Linked DNA regions of Homo sapiens: all the other regions are linked to region 4. The links are contacts of gene promoters, found by promoter capture Hi-C in blood cells and fetal thymus (Javierre and others, 2016). All regions are on one chromosome and are shown on one strand. The core of a region is centred on a gene start or on the middle of the fragment in contact, and the rest is flanking DNA. Distances in the headings are between cores, read along the strand shown.

Region 1 (4,742 bases), core at 1,853-4,352, 460 kb after region 4:
AGAAATAACTTTGGTAAAGTGCTGGGTTTCTAACACTTTTTAATAGCTGAAAATTGCTGTCCACTACCTCCTTGCAAATATTCTCAAATGATTTTCAATAGGACATAGGAGGCCACAAAAATTAAATCACTGGCACTGAGTAGAAATAGCCACAAGGGGCGGAGCGCAGTGTCTCATGCCTATAATCCCAGCACTTTGGGAGGCCGAGGTGGGCGGATCACGAGTTCAGGAGTTTGAGACCATCCTGGCCAACATGGTGAAACCCCCGTCTCTACTACAAATACAAAAATTAGCTGGGTGTGGTGGCACATGTCTGTAATCCCAGCTATTCGGGAAGCTGAGGCAGGAGACTCGCTTGAACCAGGGAGTTGGAGGTTGCAGTGAACCGAGATGGCACCACTGCACTCCAGCCTGGTGACAGAACAAGACTCCATGTCAAAATAAATAAATAAAAAATAAAAATAAATAGCCACAAGGGTATTGCCCCACTGGCAAAACATTTCCCATTTTTAAGGTGACTATAATTTGGAATGCATTCTCTCATAGTATTATAAATAGGCTTAGTCTTCTAGAGCAACCTACAAAAAATATCTTAAACTTAGCTGAATAATAGTGCTGTTTCACCTTCCTTTATCTTGACTTGGTTGGGAAAAATGTATTCCTATGATAATAGAAGATGCCCAATTAAATTCTCTTTCCTTTTTGTTGAAAGAAGCTTTCCAGTCAGGGGCATTGAGAATGGGTAAACCTTCATAAACCTAAATATCTTGTATAAAGTATTTCTCAAGGTCTTTCTTTTCTTGGAGGTTCTGAATTGTGGCATAGAGAGATACTGGGTCTCTGCAGGGGTAGGAAATCCAAATTACTGCTGTCTTCTATTTGCTTATATGAGTCATTTGTGAATTGAGTCAGGTACTTTTTATACCAATATGGAGGAGAAATAACACACTTTTTATAGTTTATTTTATACACATTCAACAGAGGTTATGTACACAAACTAAGCTCTTTGAAGGCTTATTTGCTTTTATATTTCCAGCACTTAGCACAGTTCCCAGAACATAAAAGATGTGTTTGTTGAATGCATGAATGATTACAGCCTTCCTGAAGAGTCTAAATTCTGCATGGTCTTTTCGAGATTGTGGTAATTTGATATATACATTATTTTTATAGCAATTTAAAAATTGAATCATGAACTTTATAGTAATAAGCTCTTTTAGATTCTTTGCTTTCTAATGTAAGAGATAATACATATTCTGAAACTTTAAATGGGATAGCCTTGTTGCCTGCCTTAAACTCACAATAAGACAATTGTTTCTGGTGCAATGGAAAAATTAGCAAAATAAAGAGATTGCTTAATTGAATTAAATCGCCAAAAAACAAGCTAATTTTCCAAGTTAAAAATATCTCTAAATTGCAATATCAAGGGAATGTTTCTATTTTTAAATAAGAACCTTCTTACTTTTGGCCTTAACTGTAAACTCCACTTTTCCCTAATCTTACCCTTCATGAGGCATAGTAGGAGTACATGTAGTCTAATACTTAGGAGCATGGGTTTTGGAACTCAGACCTGAACTCACACTGTACTCTGCCACTTACTCCTGTGTGATTTTGGTCGAACTACTTAAACTCTCCAAGAAATCTGTTTTCTCATTGTAAAATAGGGACAATAAAGGATCCTGTGATGTTTAAATGAACTAATAATGTCTATAAAGCATTTAGGCATACAGAAATGTTTAATACATGTTAGTCGTCATATACATTGCATCTTTCTGCCTCTTTCATTCATGTTGACTTTTTCCCCTAGCCTTTCTAGCTACTTTTTAAGGACTGAGTTTAAGTTAACTATTCATTGTATTTTTTTCCCCATCTCTTACTTTCTCATCCAAGTTCCCATTAGTAGTCCATTACTGCACTCACCATATATTATGGTTCCATGTTTGTCTGCCTTCTACAGTAGATCATGAATTCTTCAAGGGCAAGGAGTATGTTTGTACTTTTCTCAGCTCCTACTACAGGATTTGCCACATGGTGTTTAATAGAGTATTTGTTAAATTGCTAATTGACTTGTATATGGAACTCTTCTATAAATTGTGCAATGTTAATCAAATGATAGTGCTATTTTAGGACTTAATATATACCTATTAGGAAGTAATTATTTGGCATTTAAGTACAGAAGATTAGACTGTTACTACAAAGCTAATTGAACAATGACTCCAAGTACTAGACTATAACAAATTCTTTAATCATCTGTATGTAATTGATTTCAGCAACCTTTAAAACCTCGTATATAAGTGAATCTATTTGCTTCCTGCTGTAAGCCATCAGGATCAGTCCCATCTTTTAAATTGTTTTCCCCCCAGAATTTTAAAGCTGATTGCTTAAATATAATATTTTATTTAGCTAAACCTTGACCAGCATTGAGAACTTGGTATGTGTCAGGCACTGAGGACTTTAGTATGCTATCTGGTGTAAGTCCTTACAACAACCCTACCAGATAGAGGTAGTCATGTTTTCCATGCCTTTATGATTAAAAACTAAAGTTTAGATGGGTAATTTGCACTAGGTCACAGAGACAGTAAGTGCTAGATCAGGATTTGAACAAGCATTCAATACTTTATATGTATTACCTCAAGGCCGGGCGTGGTGATCCACGCCTGTAATCCCAACACTTTGGGAGGCCAAGGTGGGTGGATCACTTGAGGTCAGGAGTTCAAGACCAGCCTGGCCAATATGGTGAAACCCTGTCTCTAATAAAAATACAAAAATCAGCCGGGCGTGGTGGCAGGTGCCTGTAGTCCCAGCTACTCCAGAGACTGAGGCAGGAGAATGGCTTGAACGCGGGAGGCAGAGGTTGCAGTGAGCCAAGATTGCGCTATTGTACTCTAGCCTGGACAGCAGAGTGAGACTCCATCTCAAAAAAAAAACACATACACTTTATATGTATTGCCTCAAATTAAATTTTTAAAGATGATAAAGTTCAAATAAAACTTAGGCAGCGTGATTCTGGGGCCTAAAGTTTTATTTGTACTTTATTAATGCATACAAAGTATCTCATGCTTGTCTCAGAGTAGTTGTTCAAAAATGATAGCTTTTTCTCTTCTGATAAATTAAAAGATGACTATGTAAAAACCAGTCACCTGGACCTTGTAAGGGAACATACTGTCCAAACCTATCTGGGCTTTTACATTCCTTGTTGCATTGTTGTTGACCGTCTTATTTTCCTCTGAGAGGACGATCCAACATATAAGAAATCACAGAATATCAGAAAAGGGTGCAGAATAGTAGGTTTGTCTTGTTTCAAAATTCAGTTTTATTTTCCATTGATGATTAGTCTTATCAAAAAGCAAGTTACTTTTTTAAGACATCTGTGAAATTTTAGGTGTTTTTTTTATCACCGTGTATATTTGTCCAGTATCTTGAGTAATAAACATTTGTCATTTTTAGATTTTTAAAACGTCACCTTTGCAGCTTGATTTGAATGTGAATTAACTTGATGTCCAATATCTTAAGATCCAGATAACTCACACACAATTTCACTAATAACTTGCACACAATTTTGCTAATATATAAATTTAGAAATTCAGTAGGTCAAATATTTTCTGATTGTTATTACATATAGCAAAATCCTGGTATAACACAGTTTACCCTTATTTTCTTTCTTAATATCAGCATTATACAGGGGTTGGTTCTATGATGTTTAGAAAAAATGCTTTAAAGATATTTAAAGCCCTATATTTCATGCAAGCATTGTTCATCTTTTTAAAAACAGGTAAATCAACAGACTGGGAAGATGATGGTTGGGGAGCATGGGAAGAAAATGAACCACAAGAACCTGTAAGTCTTTACAAATATATGCATGTTTTTTGATAGTGGCATTTTCCTTTTGTAATGATGGTGACATATTTCCCTGTCAAGCTGACATTTTAAATTCGATGTCAAGAATATTTTTGTGCTTACTTATTAGTACTTAACTAGATACCTCTTCTTAAGGAACTTAATGACATTGTAGCTAAAGCGGGTGTCTTCGTTCACTTGGTGTTGCTATAACAGAATACCTGAGACTGGGTAGTTCATAATGAACAGAAATTGATTGGCTCACAGTTCTGGATGTTGGGAAGTCCAGGATCAGGGGCCAGCATCTGGCAAGAGCCTTCTTGCTGCATCATAATACGGTGAAGGTGATAGGACCAGAGGCTGGTGGAGAGGGTGGGAGGGAAGAAAACATGGGCCAATACTCCTCTTTTTATAACAAATTCACTCCCACAATAAGGAACCTACTCCCTCATTAACGTCCTTAATCTATTCACTCTGCTCTCATGACCTAATTACCTCTCATTAGGCCCCATTTCCCAACACTGTTGCATTGGGGATTAAACTTTCAACACATGTTTTTTGGGGGCACATTCAAACCATAGCAGTGGGCTAAATGGAGAATAATTGTTTTAGGATTCTTTATCTTTCATAAATTATTCTTTTATATTCTTTCACTATTCACTCAAATATTTGCTGTACCTACCATATTCTACGCATTTTTCTAGATGCTGGGAGTATAGCAAGGAACAAGGCAGACAAAGTTCCTATATATGTTAGTATATTTTCACATATGAGTAATAAAAAAATCTAACTTTAATTGGCTTAAATATGAAGAAAATTTATTCGCTTACATAGAAGGAAGTCCAAAGATAGAATGGAATCCTGGGTTGGTTGATCAGGCAATTCAAATATGTCAAGTTATTTCATTC
Region 2 (5,320 bases), core at 338-2,837, 420 kb after region 4:
TGTGAAGGTCTGGTGATGGGCATTGTAACTAGTAAGTGAGGGGGAGTTTAGGAAGTCTTTGGCTTGTGGTTTGGGCAACTATATGTAATAAGAGAATGAAGGATACAGATTTTCAACCTTTTGCATTTTAAATGTTTATGGTATGTCCAAGTAAGGACATCTGGTTGAACACCAGATATAGATAGTCTAAACAGTAGGGAGTACTGGGCCAGAGATGTTAATTGGGGAGCTAACAGCAAAAAGTGTCAGTTCAGTCTCAAGGATTATGTATGTTGTGAAATGCACTGAGTACTAAAGCTGTAAGCTTAGAGGAGCACTGGTGTTTAAAAGTCAAGTAGAGGTTACTGGGAAGAAGACTGAGAAGGAGTAAAAGAAAGAGGAAAATCATGTGAGAGTAAGGCCCTCGGAGCTGAGGAAGGCGAGAACTTGATGAGGGTGAGGAATGGTCAGCAGTTTTGCAAATGCAGCAGGGGTCAGGTAAGAAAAGGATAGAAAAATGCTTATTGGTTTTGAGAAGGTGGAGGTAACTTGGACCTTAGGACAGTTTCAGTAGGATAGTGGAGGCAGAAAGCATAGTTATAGGATAAGGGGTTAAAAAGTGAAATATACTATTTCAAGGAGCTTGGCTGTGAAGGATAGCAGATGCAGGATTGTAGATAGGGAATGTAGAAAAAAGGAACAGATTTTCTTTATCCTTCTACCACTCTCCTGGTCCAGGCCACCATCTTTTCTCAACCTGGGCTATGATATGATATGTGTCTTCTTCTAGCAATTCTTCCTGCTTTTGCTCTTGGTTTCCTGTAATAATTCTCAACAGTAGTTACAGTGAGCTTTTAAGGCATAATTTAGATCACAACATTGCCTTTTTTTTTGAGATGAAGTCTCACTCTGTTGCCCAAGCTGGAGTGCAGTGGCATGATCTCAGCTTACTACAACCTCCACCTCCTGGGTTCAAGTAATTCTTCTGCCTCAGCCTCCTGAGTAGCTGGGACTACAGGCATGCGCCACCATGCCCGGCTAATGTTTGTATTTTTAGTAGAGATGGGGTTTCACTATGTTGGCCAGGCTGGTCTTGAACTCCTGACCTTGCGATCCACCTGCCTTGGCCTCCCAAAGTGCTGGGATTACAGTCATGAGCCACCACACCCAGCCTAACATTGCCCTTTTAATAACACTCAATGGTTTTTGATTGCACTTAACGTAAAATCCAAAGTTCTTAAATGGTGTATAAGGCCCTTGAGACTCTGCTTCCTGCCATTTCTTGGACCTTATACACCTCTCCCCTTATTTCTTATGCTTCAGACGCTCTTTTTTGTTGTTAAACCAGCCAACCACATTTGTGGCTAAGGTTTTTGCCCTCACTGTTGTCTATGCCTTGGATGCTTTTTGCAGATCTTTGCATGCTAGTTGCATCTTGTCATTCAAGTCTCAGCTCAAATGTCAACTCAGGGCAGCCTTTTCTGACCACCTGATCTAGATCTAAAGTAGTCAATACAACCCCCTTGTTCCTACTTGTTGTTCTCAATCATATCATCCTGTTTATTTTCATCATTATATTTCTACTGTCCAGTATGGTAACCTCTAGGCACATGTGGTTATTGAGCCTGTGAAATGTGGCCAGTGCAACTGAGGAACTGAATTTTTAAAATTCAAGTTAATTTTAATTAATTTAAATTTAAGTAGCCAAAGTGGCTAATGCCTATAATATAGTATGGCACAGTTATAGGTGCTAAAACTCAGGTACATACAGATTGAATACTTGTCCAAGTTACATAGGCAGTTGGGGATATAAATACACCCCAAACATCTAGATTAATTTGCACTATACCTATAGATTTATAAATATGGTTTAATGTATTTCTCTTCTAAATCAAATTCTTGAGTTTATGTATGTTGATATTATTGTGGCTATGATCAGTTCATGTAGAAAATGAACAGAATGGACCTCTTCACCAGTGAGCCCCTTTGTAAAACCTGTACAGATGATCTCAGACTTATGATGGTTTGGCTTCCAATTTTTTAGCTTTACAGTAATGTGAAAGCAATGTGTACTTTGTAGAAACCATACTTCAAATTTTGCACTTTGATCTTTTCCAGAGCTAGTGATACAATGGGTAAGATACTCTTTTGTGATGGTGGGTAGCAGCAGCAAATATGAGAGACTGTACTCTACGGTATTCAAGAAGTACTGTATTCAAGAAATTACATGAGATATTTTCAACCCTTCATGATAAAATAGACTTTGTGTTAGAAGATTTTGCCCAACTATAGGCTAATGTAAGTGTTCTGAGCACTTTTAAGATAGTCTAGGCCAAGCCGTAATATAAAGAGTTTTGAACGTAAACTTTTGTACAGTGAAATTTTACAGAGAAAAAATGACATTAGCAGAGCAGGTAAATAGGACCTGACTTAAACTGCTGATGGTATTTGCCTTTGCTTTTCTTCACTTTATTTATTAATGTTATAAATGTTTATTGGGAAGCAGAAATCATGAGATCATCTTAAATTTTTTTAGCTGATATAGTTGTAATTTCTTAACCTAGCTCATCTCTAGAGGATATGTAAAAACATAAAACACCTCAATTACTTGTGAATTATAGAGGTGTATCAGTTGGTTTAAAAGTGCTTTTATTGGGCTGAGCTCTTGGAAGACTCAGGTCCTTGGGTCATAGGCATCACGGACCAATCTGAAGAAAACTGCATTTCAGGGCCTGTTGAGGCTAAAACTCCAGTTGGAGGTCCAGAACATGTTCTCGTGACTCAGCAATTTCCTTGTCAGAATCCATTACCTGCAAATAGTGGCCAGGCTCAGTGGGTCTTGTGTCCTTCAAATTCTTCGCAGCGTGTTCCTTTGCAAGCACAAAAGCTTGTCTCCAGTCACAAGCCAGTTCAGAATCAGAAGCAGAAGCAATTGCAGGCAACCAGTGTACCTCATCCTGCCTCCAGGCCACTGAATAACACCCAAAACAGCAAGCAGTCCCCGCTGTCGGCACCTGAAAATAATCCTGAGGAGGAACTGGCATCAAAACAGAAAAATGAAGAATCAAAAAGAGGCAATGGGCTTTGGAAGACCTTGAAATTGGTCGCCCTCCGGGTAAAGGAAAGTTTGGTAATGTTTATTTGGCAAGAGAAAAACAAAGCAAGTTTATTCTGGCTCTTAGGGTGTTATTTAAAGCTCAGCTGGAGAAAGCAGGAGTGGAGCATCAACTCAGAAGAGAAGTAGAAATACAGTCCCACCTCCAACATCCTAATATAATCAGACTGTATGGTTATTTCCATGATGCCACCAGAGTCTACCTAATTCTGGAATATACACCACTTGAAACAGTCAATACAGAACTTCAGAAACTTTCAAAGTTTGATGAGCAGAGAACTGCTACTTATATCACAGAATTGGCAAGTGCCCTGTCTTACTGTCATTCAAAAACAGTTATTCATAGAGACATTAAGCCAGAGAACTTACTTCTTGGATCAGCTGGAGAGCTTGAAATTGCAAATTTTGGGTGGTCAGAACATGCTCCATCTTCCAGGAGGACCACTCTCTGTGGCACCCTGGACTACCTGCCCCCCGAAATGATTGAAGGTCGGATGCATGATGAGAAGGTGGATCTCTGGAGCCTTGGAGTTCTTTGCTGTGAATTTTTAGTTGGGAAGCCTCCTTTTGAGGCAAATACATACCAAGAGACCTACAAAAGAATATCACGGGTTGAGAATTCACATTCCCTGACTTTGTAACAGAGGGAGCCAGGGACCTCATTTCAAGACTGTTGAAGCATGTTCCCAGCCAGAGGCCAATGCTCAGAGAAGTACTTGAATACCCCTGGATCACAGCAAATTCATCAAAACCATCAAATTGCCAAAACAAAGAATCAACTAGCAAGTATTCTTAGGAATCGTGCAGGGGGAGAAATCCTTGAGCCAGGGCTGCTGTATAACCTCTCAGGAACATGCTACCAAAATTTATTTTACCATTGACTGCTGCCCTCAATCTAGAACACTAAAAGAAATATTTGTTTTACTGAGCAGGTGTGCCTTAACCTCCCTACTCAGAAAGCTCCACATCAATAAACATGACACTCTGAAGTGAAAGTAGCCACGAGAATTGTGCTACTTATACTGGTTCATAATCTGGAGGCAAGGTTCGACTGCAGCCACCCCATCAGTCTGTGCCAGGCATGGTGTCCTCCCAGGAGGCAAATCCAGAGTCTGGCTATGGGGAAAGTGACCACTTTGTGCTGACTCGATCGGTTAAGGAGCTGTCCAATAACCTTCCAAGTACCTGAGTGAGTGTGTAACTTATTGGGTTGGCCAAGCCTGGTAAAGCTGTTGGACTGAGTACGTGATTCTTTTTAAGTAGGAAAATAAAGATATTTGTACAGAAAAAAAAGTACTTTTATTTTACTGTGGACAGCTGCTAGAGATATAGTGATACCACTCTCTTCTATATTTGAATTATCAAAGTATGACTTTATGTTACTTTGTATATTTAATTACAAAAGAAGACTGTCCTCTGTAGCTTTAAAAGATGCTGAACCCTACCCTTTCCCAATGTTTACATTAATGACAACTGTTAAATTTTGTTTTTATAAAGTAAATACTATCTACTTAAGACATGAAGTCTGGTCTTACTGCTTTGTGGCTTTTTTGTTTGTTTTGTTTTTGTTTTTTAGAGACAGGGCCTCACTCTGTCACCCAGGCCAGAGTGCAGTGGCATGATCATAGCTCACTGCAGCCTTAAACTCCTGGATTCAAGGGATCCTCCCACCTCAGTCTCCTGTGTTGCTAGGACTACAAGTATGCAGCACCATGCCCAGATAATTTTTTTGGTTTTTGTTGAGATAGGGTCTTGCTGTGTTGCCCAAGCAGGTCTTGAACTCCTGGGCTTAAGTGATCCTCCCACCTGGACTCTCAAAGTGCTAGAATTATAGGCATGAGCCACTCTCCCTGGTTTATTACTTTGAAGTTGCAGGGATGGGTGGAGTATAGGTCCCCACTTTATGGGTCCCCATTTAACCTATAGTGACATAATTTCCAATGCCTAGACCAGAACTTTCTGAAATTTACAGTTGGGTTGGGCAAAAATATAAATAAATATATAAATAAATAAATACATGAATAGAGAGGGAGAGCCAGAATAGTTGGAGATAATTTGGGTATTATAATATTGTGGATTTCTTGATTTACCTAATAGTAAAATAATTTCTTATTGACATACTAAAAATGTGGAATAGTTTTCCTTCTTGCCTCTTTTACCAACCAGAATATAAAGCATGTAGGGAATTATGTTGAAATAATCAATTCATGTTTTTAAGCAATCTCT
Region 3 (4,948 bases), core at 1,802-4,301, 380 kb after region 4:
TTTGTCAAAGATCAGATGGTTGTAGATGTGTGACATTATTTCTGAGGCCTCTGTTCTGTTCCATTGGTCTATATATGTGTTTTGGTACAAGTACCATGATGTTTTGGTTACTGTAGCCTTGTAGTATAGTTTGAGGTCAGATAGCGTGATGCCTCCAGCTCTGTTCTTTTTGTTTAGGATTGTCTTGGCTACATGCGCTCTTTTTTGGTTCCATATGAAATCTAAAATAGTTTTTTCTAATTCTGTGAAGAAAGTCAATAGTAACTTGATGGGGATAGCATTGAATCTATAAATTACCTTGGGCGGTGTGGCCATTTTCACGATATTGATTCTTCCTATCCATAAGCAAGGAATGTTTTACATTTGTTTGTGTCCTCTTTTATTTCTTTGAGCAGTGGTTTGCAGTTCTCCTTGAAGAAAGAAGAGGTCTTTCACATCCCTTGTAAGTTGTATTCCTAGGTATTTTATTCTCTTTGTAGCAATTGTGAATGGGAGTTCACTCATAATTTGGCTCTCTGTTAGTCTATTATTGGTGTATAGGAATGCTTATGATTTTTGCACATTGATTTTGTACCCTGAGACTTTGCTGAAGTTGCTTATCAGCTTAAGGAGATTTTGGGCTGAGACGATGGGGTTTTCTAAATATACAATCATGTCATCTGCTAACAGAGATAATTTGACTTCCTCTCTTCCGATTTGAATACCCTTTGCACTCAGAGAAACATATGAAATTAAAGGATTTATTATACTCACAGGCCCTAGAATGGGACATGGACCACACCATGGAAGGGGCCTCATGGTAAGAGTACCAAAGAAGTGGGCTCAACCAAGCAGGAGTGGAGCCAAGAGAAAAGACCCCTGGGCAAGTGGATTTACTAGGAGTCCAGGTGAAGTACACAAGCAAAAAACATGAGGGGGTTTCATCGGTGCATTTGAATGTCTCTAGGTCACAGTCAAGTTATGGTAAAAAGGTGAACTTGTAGTAGGGACCAGCTTCATCAAACTGGTGCACTTGGTTTCTTATGCAAAATGCTCACAGCCTGTTTGTGGACATGTTGAGATACCAGAAATATATGAAGCTTTAAAAATTTACAATACACCCTTCCTCTGAAAGGAAGTTCAAAGATGGTGGCAATAATAAGCTTGGGCTGTTTGTGTATTAAGCAATCCAGTCATTTCAGCAGGGGAAAAAAACAGTGATAATGATTGGCTGAATTTTAGTGTGAACCCCATCTCTACTAAAAATACAAGGCTATTTAATGCTATGTCTGGGTACGGTTCCATAAAAAAATGGTCTCATTCCCCACCGTGCTTTGGGAAATACTGCTTCTGTTAGTTATAATATCATCCATATTGCAGAATTCTTGATCCTTGTCCTACAAAATCTTTGGTATGTGGTTTTTGTTCTCCTGGTCTCAAGATGGTTTCTCTATGTCCTTCAGATACCACATCCTCATTCCAAGCAGGAGGAAGGAGTGAGGACAACAGAGCGAGTGTGCCAGCCAGTCTTTGATTTTTTCAATGAAAAATAATAGTTTTCCTAGTATTTTCACCCAATAGAATGCAGCTTGCATCTCACCGGACAGAATTATGTTTCTTGCTGATTCATAAGTGCAAAAGGAGCCTGGAAATCATCATCATGAAACATTTTTTCTCTGCAAGTTCATCGGATACTCTATCAAATCCATTTTCATCCCTAGAGACATCTCTCCTAGTATGCTCTGTCATCCTACTCCAATCTGAGCTGGATACACTGTAGGCTTGATGCTTAGTCAGAAACTTGGGACACTTATATTTCCACCATCTTACAAATTCTCCTCCTTATTCGGGTGTTATATCCTCTGTTTCTTTGCTGCTTAGTTTTTGGTTTACTCCCTTGTTTGGTGGTGCCCATCCTTCAGTAGCTTTTTGAAAGGGGAAGTAAATTTTTGAGACATTGCATGTCTGAAAATGTCTTCTATCTAGTATCAGACTCGACTGATAGCTTGGCTGAGTAGAATTTTAGATTGAAAATAATGTTTCTGGCCAGGTGCAGTGGCTCATGCCTGTAATCCCAGCACTTTGGGAGGCTGAGGTGGGCGGATCCCCTGAGGTCAGGAGTTTGAGACCAGCCTGGCCAACATGGCAAAACCCTGTCTCTACTAAAAATACAAAAATTAGCCAGGCGCAGTGGTGGGTGCCTGTAATCCCAGCTACTTGGGAGGCTGAGGCAAGAGAATCACTTGAACCCAGGAGGCAGAGGTTACAGTGAGCCGAGATCGCGCTACTGCACCCCAGCTTGGGCAACAGAGCGAGACTCCGTCTCAAAAAAAAAAAAAGAAAAAGAAAGAAAAGAAAAGAAAAGAATTTTTCTTTGGCTTTTGAAGGCATTGCTTTCCTACGATTCCAGTGATTGAGAAGTCTGGTCCCATTGTTATTCCAGAAGTTATGTATATATTCTATTTTTCTCTCTGAAGATTTACAGTGTGTTCTATCACTGGTGTTGTAAAAGTTGGCTTGATTCCTTATTTATTAGGCACTTGTGGGCCTTTGTAATCTGGAGATTTATGTCCTTCAAATCTAGGAAAAGTTCTCTTATTACTTCTTTGATCATATACTTTCATTTCCTCTGTTCTCTTTATCTAGAATGACAATTAAATATTGCACCTGTTGGATGCTCCTTTTAGTTTATTGTTTTTGTTTTCTCTAATTAACCGTCTCTCTTCTTATTTATTCTACTTTCTCATGATTAGTGTTTGCATGATATATCTTTTCTATCATTTCACTTTTAACCTACATGTTTCTTTTGATTTCATGTACATCTCTTGCAAACAAATACAATGTGATCTTGCTTTTTATCCAATCTGACAATCTTTGCCTCTTGATGGGTTTAGTTCATTTACATTTATTGTAATTATTGATATGGTTGGATTTAAGTCTTGCTGTTTGTTTCTTATTCATCCTATGTGTTCTTTGATCTTTTTACACCTCCTTTCCTGATATCTTTTGAATTAGTTAATACTTTAATACAATATTAAAGCATACAGCATTTTAATACACTATATTAATACAATATATTTAATAAAATATTTAATTGTATCTATTGCCTTTTTAGTTATACTTCTTGTTTGTTTTTTGTTCTACCTTGAATTAACATTTTACAGTTCACATGTAATGTAAAAAGCTAACAACACAAGGCTGTCACTTAACCCTACTTCCGTGTTCCTTGTGTTGATTTTGTCAAAAATTTTAGTTCTACATATGTTATAAAACTCACAATACATTATTATTATATTCACTTTGAACAGTCTATTGTCTTTTAGAATATCAAGGAACAAGAAAAAGTATTATTATTATTATTATTATTATTATTATTATTATTTTGAGACAGAATCTCTCTCTGTTGCCCAGGCTGGAGTGCAGTGGTGCAATCTCAGCTCACTGCAACCTCTGCCTCCTGGGTTCAAACAATTTTCCCCCTCAATGTTAGAGTAGCTGGGACTACAGGTGTGTACCACCATGCCTGGCTAATTTTATATTTTTGTTAATAGAGATAGGGTTTCACCATGTTGGCTGGTCTCAAACTCCTGACCTCAAATGTTCCGCCCACCTCGGCCTCCCAAAGTGCTGGGATTACAGGCATGAGCCACAGCTCCTGGCCTCAAGGAACAAGAAAAAAGTATTTTTTAATAATTACTCACATATTTACTATTTACAGTGTTCTTCATTTAGGTTTGAGTTTATGTCATTTTCCTTCATCCTGAAGAACTTACTGTAACATTTCTTGTAGTACAAGTTTGGTGGTATCATATTCTGTCAGCTTTTTTTTTTTTTTAAATATCTTCTTTTTCTTATTTCTTTTCTTTTTCTTTTTCTTTGTTTTTTTTTTTTTTTTTTTTTTTTTTTTTTTTTTTGAGACAGGTCTTTCTTTGTTACCCAGGCTGGTCTAGAACTACTGGGCTGAAGCAATCCTCCTGCCTCAGCCTCCCAAAGTGCTGGGATTACAGGTCTGAGCCACCACTCTCAGCCTTAAAATATCTTTATTACCTTCATTTCTAAAGCATATTTTCTTTCTAGGCTAATAGTTTATTTTTTCTCTCAGTACTTTTCTCCCATCAGTACAATTGATGTCATTCAGTTGTCTTCTGTCTTGCATTAGTTCTGATGAGAAGTTCAGCAGCCATATTTATTATTGTTGTCCTGTATTTAATACATCTTTTCTTCCTCTCCAATTGCTTTCAAGATTATCTTTGATTTAGCAATTTTATTATGATGGGCATGGTATGGTTTTCTTTGTGTTTATCCTGATTGAGGTAAGTTGAGCCTGTTGGATCTCTAGGTTGACATTTTCCATCAAATTTCAATTTTTTTTAGTCAAAATGTCTTCAAACACATTTTTCTGTCTCTCCTTTGCCTTGGACTCTAATTACAAATATGTTAGACCACTCAATATTTTCCCAAAGGTCACTGAAGTTGGTTCTTTTTTTTCTGCAGTCATTTTTTTTTCTCTGTGCTTCTGTTTTGCTAGCTCCTATTGATGTGTTTTAAAGTTTATTGATTTTTTTCCCTTCTGCAGTGGTCAAATTAATGTTAACCTCAGTCAATAAATTTTTTATTTCATGTTTTTTTTTAGAACTTCCACTTGCTTCTTTTAAATAGTTTCCATTTCTGTATTTACATTTCCCATCTGATCATTCATTTTTTATTTATTTTCTGTTATACCCTTGAACATATTTGTAAGTTATTTTACAGTCTTTGCTAACTCCAACACCTGTGCCATATCTGGGTTTGCTTCTACTGAATGTCATTTCTCCCTATTATGGTTCCTGTTTTCTAATCTCTTTACATATTAATAATTTCTTTTATTGCAAGTTGGACATTATAGATAACACAACGGATTTTACTGTCTTCTTTTAAGACTGTTAAGTATTGCTCTTGCAGATAGTTAACTGGTGATTTAGTTTAATCC
Region 4 (4,786 bases), core at 80-2,579:
TGAATCGTCCTAGCAGGGCTCTAAGCCTGAAAGACCCAACTTTATAGTTTTACCCCTGCCTGTATTCTGCTCCAGAAGCTGCTGACATACCTTTAAAGAGGATGATAAACCTAAGCTCCCAGGCATGGAGACTGAATGGCTTCAGGTGTAAGACGGCATTGGGCAACACAGATAAATAGACAATAAATCAGATGGGGCCCGTGGCCTTTGGCCAGGACACAGTAACTTCTGTGACTTTATTCTGGGTGGCCTTGTCCAGGCCAGCAGAGCTTCCGGCAGCAGCTTCGACTGTTTCCATGCAGAGACACCTGGGAACTGCATCTGCGCTTTGATTTCCGCGAAGGAAACTGTCATTTTCTCCCATATTCATTCTTCCTAACCCCATCTCCCCGAGACAAACGGCAGAATGTTTTGAAGGCCCCAGAGTACACTGATAGTTGGCTAGACGAGAAAAATTCAACGAGCGCCTATTTATGTATTTGTTGCGCTCCCAGGCTCGGGAAATAACCTTGGGAATATTTGGGAGAGTAACCCAAACATTTCTCAACTAGTGGGATATCCTGGAGGGGATGTTACTGGAAAACAAATACACTGGGTTGCAATTTCTTTCTTTCCAACTGGGCCACCTTCTCCAAGTCACCTGCCGCGCTAACGCTTCAGTATTCCCATCTGTAATCAGGAAACTGATTCCTGATCTTACATAAAAACCACCGCGGTAGGAGCCCCTTGAGAATGTTCTTAAGAAGCCAGGAGCGCAATAGCAGGCACAGCAGGGACCACCCAGCGCAACCCCCGATTTAAGTTTCTATCACGACTCGCAACTCGCGGCTTCCCTCCGGCGAGGGAATGGGAGCGGGGGCGGAGGGGTCGCAGGTGCAGCCCGGAGAAACTGGGTGAGTCGATGGTAAGGACCCGGCTCCCGCTCCCCCGCGGGACACCACACCCGCGCCCCCCGGGCAGTGGTGGCGCAGGGCCCCTACCTTGCCGTACTTCTTCAGCTTCCTCCGGTACCTCTTCCTGGGCTGCTCGCTCGGCGCCGGCTCCTCCAGTGGCTCGTAGCGCTCGGGCAGGAGGGCGAAGTGCACCCTCCGCGCGCCCCGGGTCCCCGGGCCCCGCTCGTCCGCCGCGCTCGTCCCGCTCTCGGCCGCCGCCTCCGCCTCGTCCGCGTACTCCAGGTGCTCCAGGATGGCGGCCGCCTCCTCGTCCCCCTCGGTTCGCCCTCGCCCTCGGGGCCCGCGGCGCAGGAGGCTGCTCTCCGCCTTGCTTCGGAGCCTGGCTCCCACCGTCATGATGTCCCGGCCCCTCTGGCGAAGGTCCGAGCGCAAAGACACCAACCTTTGGTCCCCGCCCGCTCCTCCGCCCCAGCCCGGACGGGGCGGGGGATTGGGGGGGCCGCAGCGCCCCCTGGCCGTGGGGCCCGGGATAGCGTTGGCTCCGCTCCGAACTGGCCTACCAGGCGGCGGGCGCGCTCCGCCAGCCCCGCCCTTCATCCCACCTGCCGGCCAAACTGTGCAGACTACGGCGCGCACTGCACAATGAACATGCAAAACACCTTCAACTGCACTTGCTACGAAATTAATGACCCCAAATAATAGGACTCCATCTGCTCATGTTCAAATTAGCAACGATGGAAAATGATACTAGAGATCACGCTCAGTGCTAGGGAGGGCATGGCGAGATAGTCACGGTAACAGGATTCGTGGGAGTGCAAATTGGTGGCAAGGTTTTGGAGAGACGATCAGAAAATCTTTATCGTGAGTCTTAGGAAACGTCCGTATTCTAGGAAATATTCGGAAACGCAAGACAGTGTGTCCACGGTGTTCAACGGTCTGACTCAGTGAAAAAGTGGAGCAAACCAACAGGGAGGCGCAAAGGAAATTCTGGTGCAGACATGCCAGCATATGGCGCAGTCTTTAAAATCATGATTTTCAGGAATATCTCTCTGTGAGATAAGCATTATCAGTGTACTGTGAATCTCAACAAGCTGAGAGTGCCCTATTTTCTTAAGTGGGTAAATGCCTTTGAATTCTGGCTAATGTAGAATTAAGGGCCGAAAGCAGTGGCTCACGCCTGTAATCCCAGCACTTTGAGAGGCCGGGAGGATAGCTTCAGCCCAGGAGTTGGGGAACAGCCTGGGCAACATAGTGAGACCTCCATCTCTAGAAAAAAAAAAAAAAATTAGCCAGGCGTAGGGGCGCACACCTGTGATCCCAGCTATTCAGGAGGATCGCTTGGGCCTGGGAGTTTGAGACTAGCCTGGGCAACACAGGGAGACCTCATCTCTAGAAATAGAAAAACAAATACAAAAGTTTACCTGTAGTCCCAGTGAGGTAGGGAGATCGCTTGATCCTGGAAGGTGGAGATTGCAGTGAGCTATGATTGTGCCACTGCGCTCCAAAGGGGTCGACAGAGTGAGATCCCATCTCAAAAAAATACTTAGGTATAAAATAACATAGATTGTTAGATACACTGATATTTTAACATTAAAGTTTGTGATTAAATTTAAGAATAACGTGTATATGTTGGTATAAGCACATACAATGTTTACGACAATTTAGTTCACTAGGATGCAAAAGAAATTAGTTTTGTGATTCCAACTTAAAATGTGAGCCAGCATGGTGACTTTCACCTGTAATCCCAGCAACTCCACAGGCTGTGGTGGGAGGATCCCTTGAGGCTAGGAGTTCTGAGCAACGTAGGCCCCATTTCTAAAAAAGTGAAAATGTGTGGCTCGGTGCGGTGACTCACACCTGTAATCCCAACACTTTGGGAGACCAAGGCGGTGGATCACCTGAGGTCAGGAGTTCGAGACCAGCCTGGCCAATATAGTGAAACCCTGTCTCTACTAAAAATACAAAAATTAGCCAGGCATGGTGGCGTGCTCCTGTAGTCTCAGCTATTCGGCAGGCTGAGGAGGAGAATCGCTTAAACCCAAGAGGCAGAGGTTGCAGTGAGCGGAGATCGTGCCACGGCACTCCAGCCTGGGCAACAGAGTGAGACTCTGTCTCAAAAAAAAAAAAAAAAGTAATCAGCTAATTGATTTACGCTTTTATTTAACTTATGTAATAAGGTAATAAGTAATGACTTATATTTAATCTTAAAAACATAGAGTCTTTATATGTAAAATAGTATATAAAATTTATGTACAATTCAATTTCAGGTGAAATGGGTATGAAAATGAATTTAACTTACTATATTTATAAGAATTACTTAGAGTTTTGTTATAGAATTGAAGTACTTGAAAAGAAAGTCAAATATTAAATTTGTAAAAGTTGCTTGAAATGTTTAGGAGAATTAACTAAACAGTAAAAGTGCCTCCTTACAGTAATTGTAAAATTTTATCGGGTGAGTAAATAGTTTAAAACAGTATGTAATTTGAATTTAAAAGGTTAAGAGAAAGTAGATTTGTAGATTTGTAATTTTGCTAAAGCAACTATTACTTTATAAACAAACAGAGACCCTTGTAGTCCCTTTTTTTTTTGTACAAAACCGACCTCAAAGAACCCTAGGCTGCTTATCAAATGGTGATATAGTTTGGTTCTATGTCCCCACCAAATTTCATGTTGAATTGTAATCCCCACTGTTGGAGGTGGGGCCTGGTGGGAGGTGATTGGATCATGAGGGTGGCCCTTCATGAATGACTTAGCACCATCCCCTCAGTGCTATCCTAGTAATAGTGAGTGAGTTATCGCGAGATCTGGTCGTTTAAAAGTGGGTGGTGTGCACCTCCCCCTTCTCTCTCTCATCTTCCTTCTTTGGCCATGTTTGCGTGTTTCCCCTTTACTTTCTGCCATGATTGTAAGTTTCCTGAGGCCTCCCCAGAAGCAGAAGCCATCATGCTTCCTGTATAGCCAGCAGAACTGTGAGCAAATTAACCCTCTTTTCTTTATAAATTACTGAGTCTCAGGTATTTCTTTATAGCAGTGCAAGAACGGACTAATACAAATAGAGACGAAGGTAGAACATCCATGGGCCTAAAATGTGTTTTTGTCAGTACAAAATACTGTTCAAATATCACAACAACATTTAGTTTGCCTTTAAAGGCAAAACACTAGAACAATTAAAAATTGATCTCCAGATTAAGTCTCTATAACCAGTGAACAAGCAGAATTTAAGGAGATGTAATCAGAAACTGTCTTTATGTTGCATTCCCTTGTCTCTCTACAAGTTATTCTGTTCAGAGAATGAGTCTCTTGCTCCTCGGTGAAAACTTAGGTAGTCTTGTAGGGTTTTTTGTTTGTTTGTTTGTTTGAGACAGAGTTTCACTCTTGTTGCCCAGGCTGGAGTGCAATGGTGCGATCTTGGCTCACGGCAATCTCCGCCTCCCAGGTTCAAGTGATACTCCTGCCTCAGCCTCCCGAGTAGCTGGGATTAGAGGCATGCGCCACCATGCCTGGCTAATTTTATATTTTCTAGTAGATACGGGGTTTCTCCATGTTGGTCAGGCTGGTCTCGAACTCCTGACCTCAAGTGATCCACCCGCCTAGGCCTCCCAAAGTGCTGGGATTACAGGCGTGAGCCACCACGCCCAGCAGTCCTGTAGTTTTTCTATTCACACAGAAGTAATAAGTCCCAACCTCTGTCTCAAAAAAAAAAATAAAATAAAAATAAACAAATAAATAACTAAACATAATCTTCATCTATATAATCCTAAATCGTATAATGTTCAATTCCATGTAATACTCAGAACCTTGAACTTGATTTAAAGTAAATCTTCTCTCCTCAGGCAGCACCTGATGTGGGTGTGTACCTGTGTGCAGTGGTGGTGAGAGAGTAGGGACTGGGG
Region 5 (5,290 bases), core at 1,238-3,737, 500 kb after region 4:
ACACAGTCACTCGACACTTCTGCCACTAGATGTAGGGTTTTTTTTTTTTTTCCCACACACCAGTCAATTTCTTTGGCAGATTCTCCAGCTAACACCAGCTGGTTATTCTCTAATTCAGTTCGATTCTGACACCATCTACCTGGAGATAGCATGAGATCATCACGACAGGTTAAGAGCTCAGTCCCACAAGACTTCTACCTACTTCAGGTACCAGTCACAAGTAGTTGGTTGTCAGCTATATTTCTGACTGTCTAGCTATAAATTAGGGTTACTATGACCCCCTCTTTGCGGTTGATGAATTTGCTAGACCAGCTCACAGAACTCAGGGAAACGTTTTACTTGAACGTTTACCCATTTATTATAAAGGATATTACAGAGGGTAGAGATCAACAGCCAAGTGGAAGAGGTGCATAGAGTAAATCATATGGGAAGGGTTGCAGAGCTTCCATTCCCTCTCCTGGCAAGCCACTATTCAGGAACCTCTACACGTTCAGCTATCCAGAAGCTCTTCCAACCCTTGTCCTTTTGGGTGTTGATGGAAGCTTCATTATATAAGCATGATTGATTACATCATTGGCCATTGGTGATCAACTCAGTCTTCCAGCTCCTCTTGGCTCCCCAGAGGTCAGGGGTTGGGCTAAAAGTTTCAATCCTCAAATACATGGTTGGTTCCACTGGTAACCACCCCCTTATTCTGAAGCTCTCCAGGAGCCTGCCATGAGTGGCCTCATTAGAAAAAAAGAAGCTTCTATCACCCAGGAAATTACAGAGGTCTTAGAAGCTCCCCATCAGAAATGGGGGGTCAAAGACCAAATGTTAGAACAAAAGGTTCTCCTAGCACCTCTGTCTACAAAGGGATTAAGAGCTCTGACTGATGAACTAGGACAGAGACCAAACACTAGAACAAAAGAAACTCCTAGCACCCCCATTGTTCAAGAAATTATAGGAACTCTGTGTCAGGTACTGGGGCCATAGACCAATATGTATATTTCTTATTATTTTATAGCTACATACATGGGAGAATTCAGTGAATAGTGATACATGGGAGAATTTAGTGAATAGTGATTTCTGTTGCAGTCCGTTTTTAAAACACTTTATTGAGTTATTGTAGAACAGAAAAGCCTTTGTGACTTTTAATTGTGTCTTCCATTCTACTGACAATGCTAATTGGCTCTCATTTTGCTCAGGGTAAAGTCTCTGTTATTAGAGATGACATGATGATGACAAAGTGGGCATCTAGAGAGGCATATTGAGAAATCTGTAGTAGAAAGGGTCATAACCCACACGGTTCTTCTCATTTTTATGCCATCTTTCTTCTTATCCTAAATCATAGAACAACAAAATTGGGAAACCAGCATAATGCAAAATGTCTTCTTGATTTTCTTTTTTTTAATGGTACTTCTGAATCATGTATGAAGCTGTGAATTTTATAAAGAATGCTAGAAAACCCAGTAACAAAAGTTATAGGTCTTCTAGGACTGACTAAAGGGAAGGAAGAAACCAGTTCAGGCTTTGGGAGACTGTTGAATAATGGGGAAGAAAACAAGCTAGCTGCTAGCCTGGGTAATCATAGGCAGAACTGGAGCAGGTTATGCTTGTCCTGGGTTCTGGCCTCTTACAGTCACTTTCTTTATTGTTTCCTGGTAGTTACTTCATTATAGGCCTGACCAACATCTTGAGCCACCCTCTAAGCCCATTTCTCCTCCACAAACACGCAGAGGTTATTGTGTTATGATCGGATATTTGTCTTATCCCACATTCTCAGCCTACTTTTTGAACTATTTAATCTCATTAATTAAAACCCAACTTAATGTGCTAATATGAAAGGATAAATATGACCTTTAACTTCTGATAGTTGCTACTTTAGGCATGAAGAGATATTTTGGGACTGGTTATGAAGAATCTTAAATATCTATGGGGGTGGGGAGAGGGAGGTAGGGAAGGGTGGGTACTGTATTCATCTAGCAGGGCCTATAGATTCTGCCTGCCATGCACAAATGCAATAATTAAGGTATAACTAAGTTTTTGGCAGCTTTTGTTATTGACATGACAATAACCTCTGCTTTTCGTTTATGCCTATATAGTATAGGCATATTCAAACTCTTCTTATTGGTAAATAGCTTTATCTTTGTTTCTGTTTTGATTTGGCTATTCTGTTAAGTAGCAGTTGCCTTCTAGTTGTTTTATTCTCAGCCTGGATTTTTGTCATTTATGTCATATTTGGCATGACATGAAGTTGATTGTATATTACTTAACAACGCAACTTGAGATTTAATATATGTACACTAAAACATCTTAAATATAGAGCTTCCCTTTGAAATTTGGGGTAGTGAAAGTTTGGGCATAAATATAAGATTTAAAAAACAAAATCACTGCCTTATAATTACTAGAACTGTTCAATATCTTTCTCCTAGGCTTTGGAAAGCATTTTGGCAAGTGAACGTTTACCATTTTCTTGCCTTAGAAACATCACTCAGACTTTAATGGACACTTTAAAAAGTCAAGGTAATAGGGTTTGTACTGATTGGAGGTTATGTTCTTAACTCAAATTTTGTAACTCTGATTATAGAAAGCTATTGACTTTGTGATACCATCATGTTACTTTAATGTGGAAGTAATATAGATATAAGAAATTAAGAATCTTATTTATTCCCTATTTAATATATGTAGTTGATCTTCATCTAAGCTGTCTTTGAATGTATTGACTGTTATTGGGAAGTTGTTTTTAATTGTGAGGAAAGATGTCAGGATAGAATGATAAGTGGTTATTCTGATATAGCTTTGTATTAATGTTCTATCAGTGTATCAGTTTCCCTCGTGAACAGAGTTAAGGACTTCCAGAATCACAATCAACAATCAGATTATTATTTCTGAATTTTCTGGTCATTTTTTGATATTCAAAATTTGTCTGTACTATCACATTGTTCTTTAAAATCCATCAGTCCGTCAAAATGTATTTGTCTGAAAAAGGATTACACTTGAAACTTGAAACTGTGGGGTTGTAACACCATATTCCATCCAACTGAACTAGTAAAAATTCACTTTATTCTGAATTCCTAACATCAGTTAAATTGTGTGCAGTGGACTGATGTCATCTAGTTGTGACTTTTGTTTGTCATATTAATTATGTAAAACCAGCTTTGTGTTTTAGTTGTGTGTAAGACAGCTTAAAGTGGCTTAATACACAAATTATAATTTGTTCTTTCAGGACTTCAAACATGCTAATTTTGAGACTCTTTTTCAACCTTTTTTTTTTAACAGATACATAAAACTGACATTGGCAAATAGTGAACTCCTTTAGCATACACCACTTGTCAGAAATAAATCCCTCTTTTAAAAAGCGTGGTATACTTACAAAGCCCTCCCACCCCTCAAGGCATTCACAACATCCCAAAATTTATTAAATGAAAAGTTATCTTCCACTGGCCTGGTAGTAAACCAAACACCATTGTTGGAATTCCATAAAATCATCAGTTTCAAGTTCTACATAAACATAAGATTCCTAAAAACTTTAATCATTTTGTGTGGTCAGTTTTATTATGGCTATAAGAACTTGAACAATATTCCATGATACTGTATTTCAAATAAGATTTTGAGGGGATTATCAGTGTCTCCCTTTTTAAAGAATAAATATTTCTTTTATATTAGATATAAATATTCATACAGTATATGAATTATGTAGTCAGGGAAAATATTTTCAAAGGTATTTCCAGATAATTTCTTTAAATTTTAAGTATTAGATGAAGATATTTCCGCTTCCTTTTTTATCTCCCTACTTTTAGAGCATCTTATTTTATTTAAAAAGTTAGACATTTTGTCATGACAGAAAAATTATTTTTGCTTTCAAAACCTGGTATAGCTTAAGCATCTCAGTATTTAATACATCAGAGCATCAGGGAATTACATAATATTGAGAGATTTAATGAAAGCAAAGCCTGTTTATGAGTCTGTTAAATATATCTCTTATATATACTTTTCCTTCTGCCTTTTAGAACTTGAGTCTGTTGATGAAGGATTGCTACAGTTTTGTGCCAATAAACTAAAACTGCTGCAACTCTATGAGTCTGTCAGTCAATTAAATTCCCTTGATTTTCATTTAGACACACCATTCTCTGATAATGTGAGTAATCCCACATTTTATATTATATAAAATAATCTCTTTGATTAGTTTTACTTTTTAAAATTAGTAGTAAAGAAGTAGAAAATTAAGAATTTTTTTTAAAGCTTTAAAGGTATATTTTCCTTACCAAGCCCCCTGCTAGCTCTCTGTGCTTTGCTGCTATATTTATATTATTTATACAAGTGCTGAGATTATAGGCATAAGCCACTATGCCCAGCCATGATATGTTTTTGTACATATAGTATATAAAAATAGTTTGAAAGCCTAGCAGGTTGTATCCCTGAGAGCCACATACAGGACTTATATGTAGATACAATGAGAATATTTTTCTATGTTTTTATTTTATAGTGTTTACGCTGCTTTATAATTAAGCATTTAAGTTCAATATTTAGTTTCCTCAGAATAGTAAGAGTTGCGTTTGACACCCTTTTAAATTTTTTTCTGATTATACAGTAATACATGTTTATTAAAATTCTAGCATTTGCCAAGGCATAGTGGCTTGCACCTGTAACCTTAACACTTTGGGAAGCTGAGGTGCGAGGATCACTTGAGCCCAGGAGTTCGAGAGCAGCCTGGGCAACATAGTGGGACCCTGCCTCTACAAAAAAAAAAATTTTTAATTAGCTGGATGTGGTGGTGCACACTTGTGGTCCCGGCTACTCAGGTGGCTGAGGCAGGAGGATTGCTTGAGCCCAAGAAGTCAAGGCTGCAGTGAACCATGATTGTGCCAAGGCACTCTAGCCTGGGTAACAAAGTGAGACCCTGTCTCAAAAAAAAAAAAAAAATGCTAACATTCTAGAAGATAATAAAGTACCCTCAAGAAATATCCTAAAATGGTACTTTTAATACCATTTCTTTTAGTACCTACCTCTAGTACCATGTTTGGTTTGGTACCAAACATGCAGTGTTTCAAAATTATAGTTTACTTTATTTAAATAACTTCCTACTCATGAAACGTGATTTGTAAGTAAAGTTTTAAGCAGAATACATGATAGGTATTATATTAATTAAAAAGTCGACTTTTGCTTACAGCCTTGAATTTCAGTTCAGATAATGTGGGTGATAGATGTGGAATGTTGTTTTGTTTTGTTTTCTGTTTTAAAGGACTTGGCTCTGTTACTAAGGCTTGATGAAAAAGAACTGCTTAAGCTCCAGGCATTACTAGAGAAA

The links. The method cuts DNA at HindIII sites, captures the fragments that hold promoters and counts their contacts. A CHiCAGO score of 5 or more calls a contact.
Region 1: a fragment that was not itself captured here is called in contact with the fragment with the promoter of C1orf115 in region 4 in 1 of 17 cell types (naive CD4 T cells); the score reaches 5.1 in naive CD4 T cells.
Region 2: a fragment that was not itself captured here is called in contact with the fragment with the promoter of C1orf115 in region 4 in 1 of 17 cell types (naive CD4 T cells); the score reaches 5.5 in naive CD4 T cells.
Region 3: a fragment that was not itself captured here is called in contact with the fragment with the promoter of C1orf115 in region 4 in 1 of 17 cell types (endothelial precursors); the score reaches 5.4 in endothelial precursors.
Region 5: a fragment that was not itself captured here is called in contact with the fragment with the promoter of C1orf115 in region 4 in 1 of 17 cell types (megakaryocytes); the score reaches 5.8 in megakaryocytes.

Annotation. Positions count from the first base shown.
Region 1 is chr1:220,231,891-220,236,632 of GRCh38, reverse strand. It overlaps RAB3GAP2 (RAB3 GTPase activating non-catalytic protein subunit 2), which reads left to right. Exons shown (of 35, transcript NM_012414.4): 2 at 3,770-3,834. Among named protein-coding and RNA genes, the nearest start is that of SNORA36B, 34 kb to the right of the region's middle. The HindIII fragment of the contact is 4,769 bases long and covers 718-4,742 here.
Region 2 is chr1:220,265,274-220,270,593 of GRCh38, reverse strand. The region is part of intron 1 of RAB3GAP2 (RAB3 GTPase activating non-catalytic protein subunit 2); the gene reads left to right. It also overlaps the pseudogene AURKAP1. Among named protein-coding and RNA genes, the nearest start is that of RAB3GAP2, 4.5 kb to the left of the region's middle. RefSeq lists enhancers at 1-47, 2,129-3,328. The HindIII fragment of the contact is 2,562 bases long and covers 307-2,868 here.
Region 3 is chr1:220,304,446-220,309,393 of GRCh38, reverse strand. No RefSeq gene overlaps it. Among named protein-coding and RNA genes, the nearest start is that of RAB3GAP2, 34 kb to the right of the region's middle. The HindIII fragment of the contact is 3,814 bases long and covers 1,145-4,948 here.
Region 4 is chr1:220,686,906-220,691,691 of GRCh38, reverse strand. C1orf115 (chromosome 1 open reading frame 115) reads right to left here and starts at 1,329. Exons shown (of 2, transcript NM_024709.5): 1 at 981-1,329. The coding sequence starts at 1,289. RefSeq lists a silencer at 1,259-1,498. The HindIII fragment of the contact is 6,585 bases long and covers 1-4,786 here.
Region 5 is chr1:220,182,866-220,188,155 of GRCh38, reverse strand. It overlaps RAB3GAP2 (RAB3 GTPase activating non-catalytic protein subunit 2), which reads left to right. Exons shown (of 35, transcript NM_012414.4): 18 at 2,415-2,505; 19 at 3,993-4,120; 20 at 5,225-5,290. Among named protein-coding and RNA genes, the nearest start is that of MIR664A, 15 kb to the left of the region's middle. The HindIII fragment of the contact is 3,479 bases long and covers 748-4,226 here.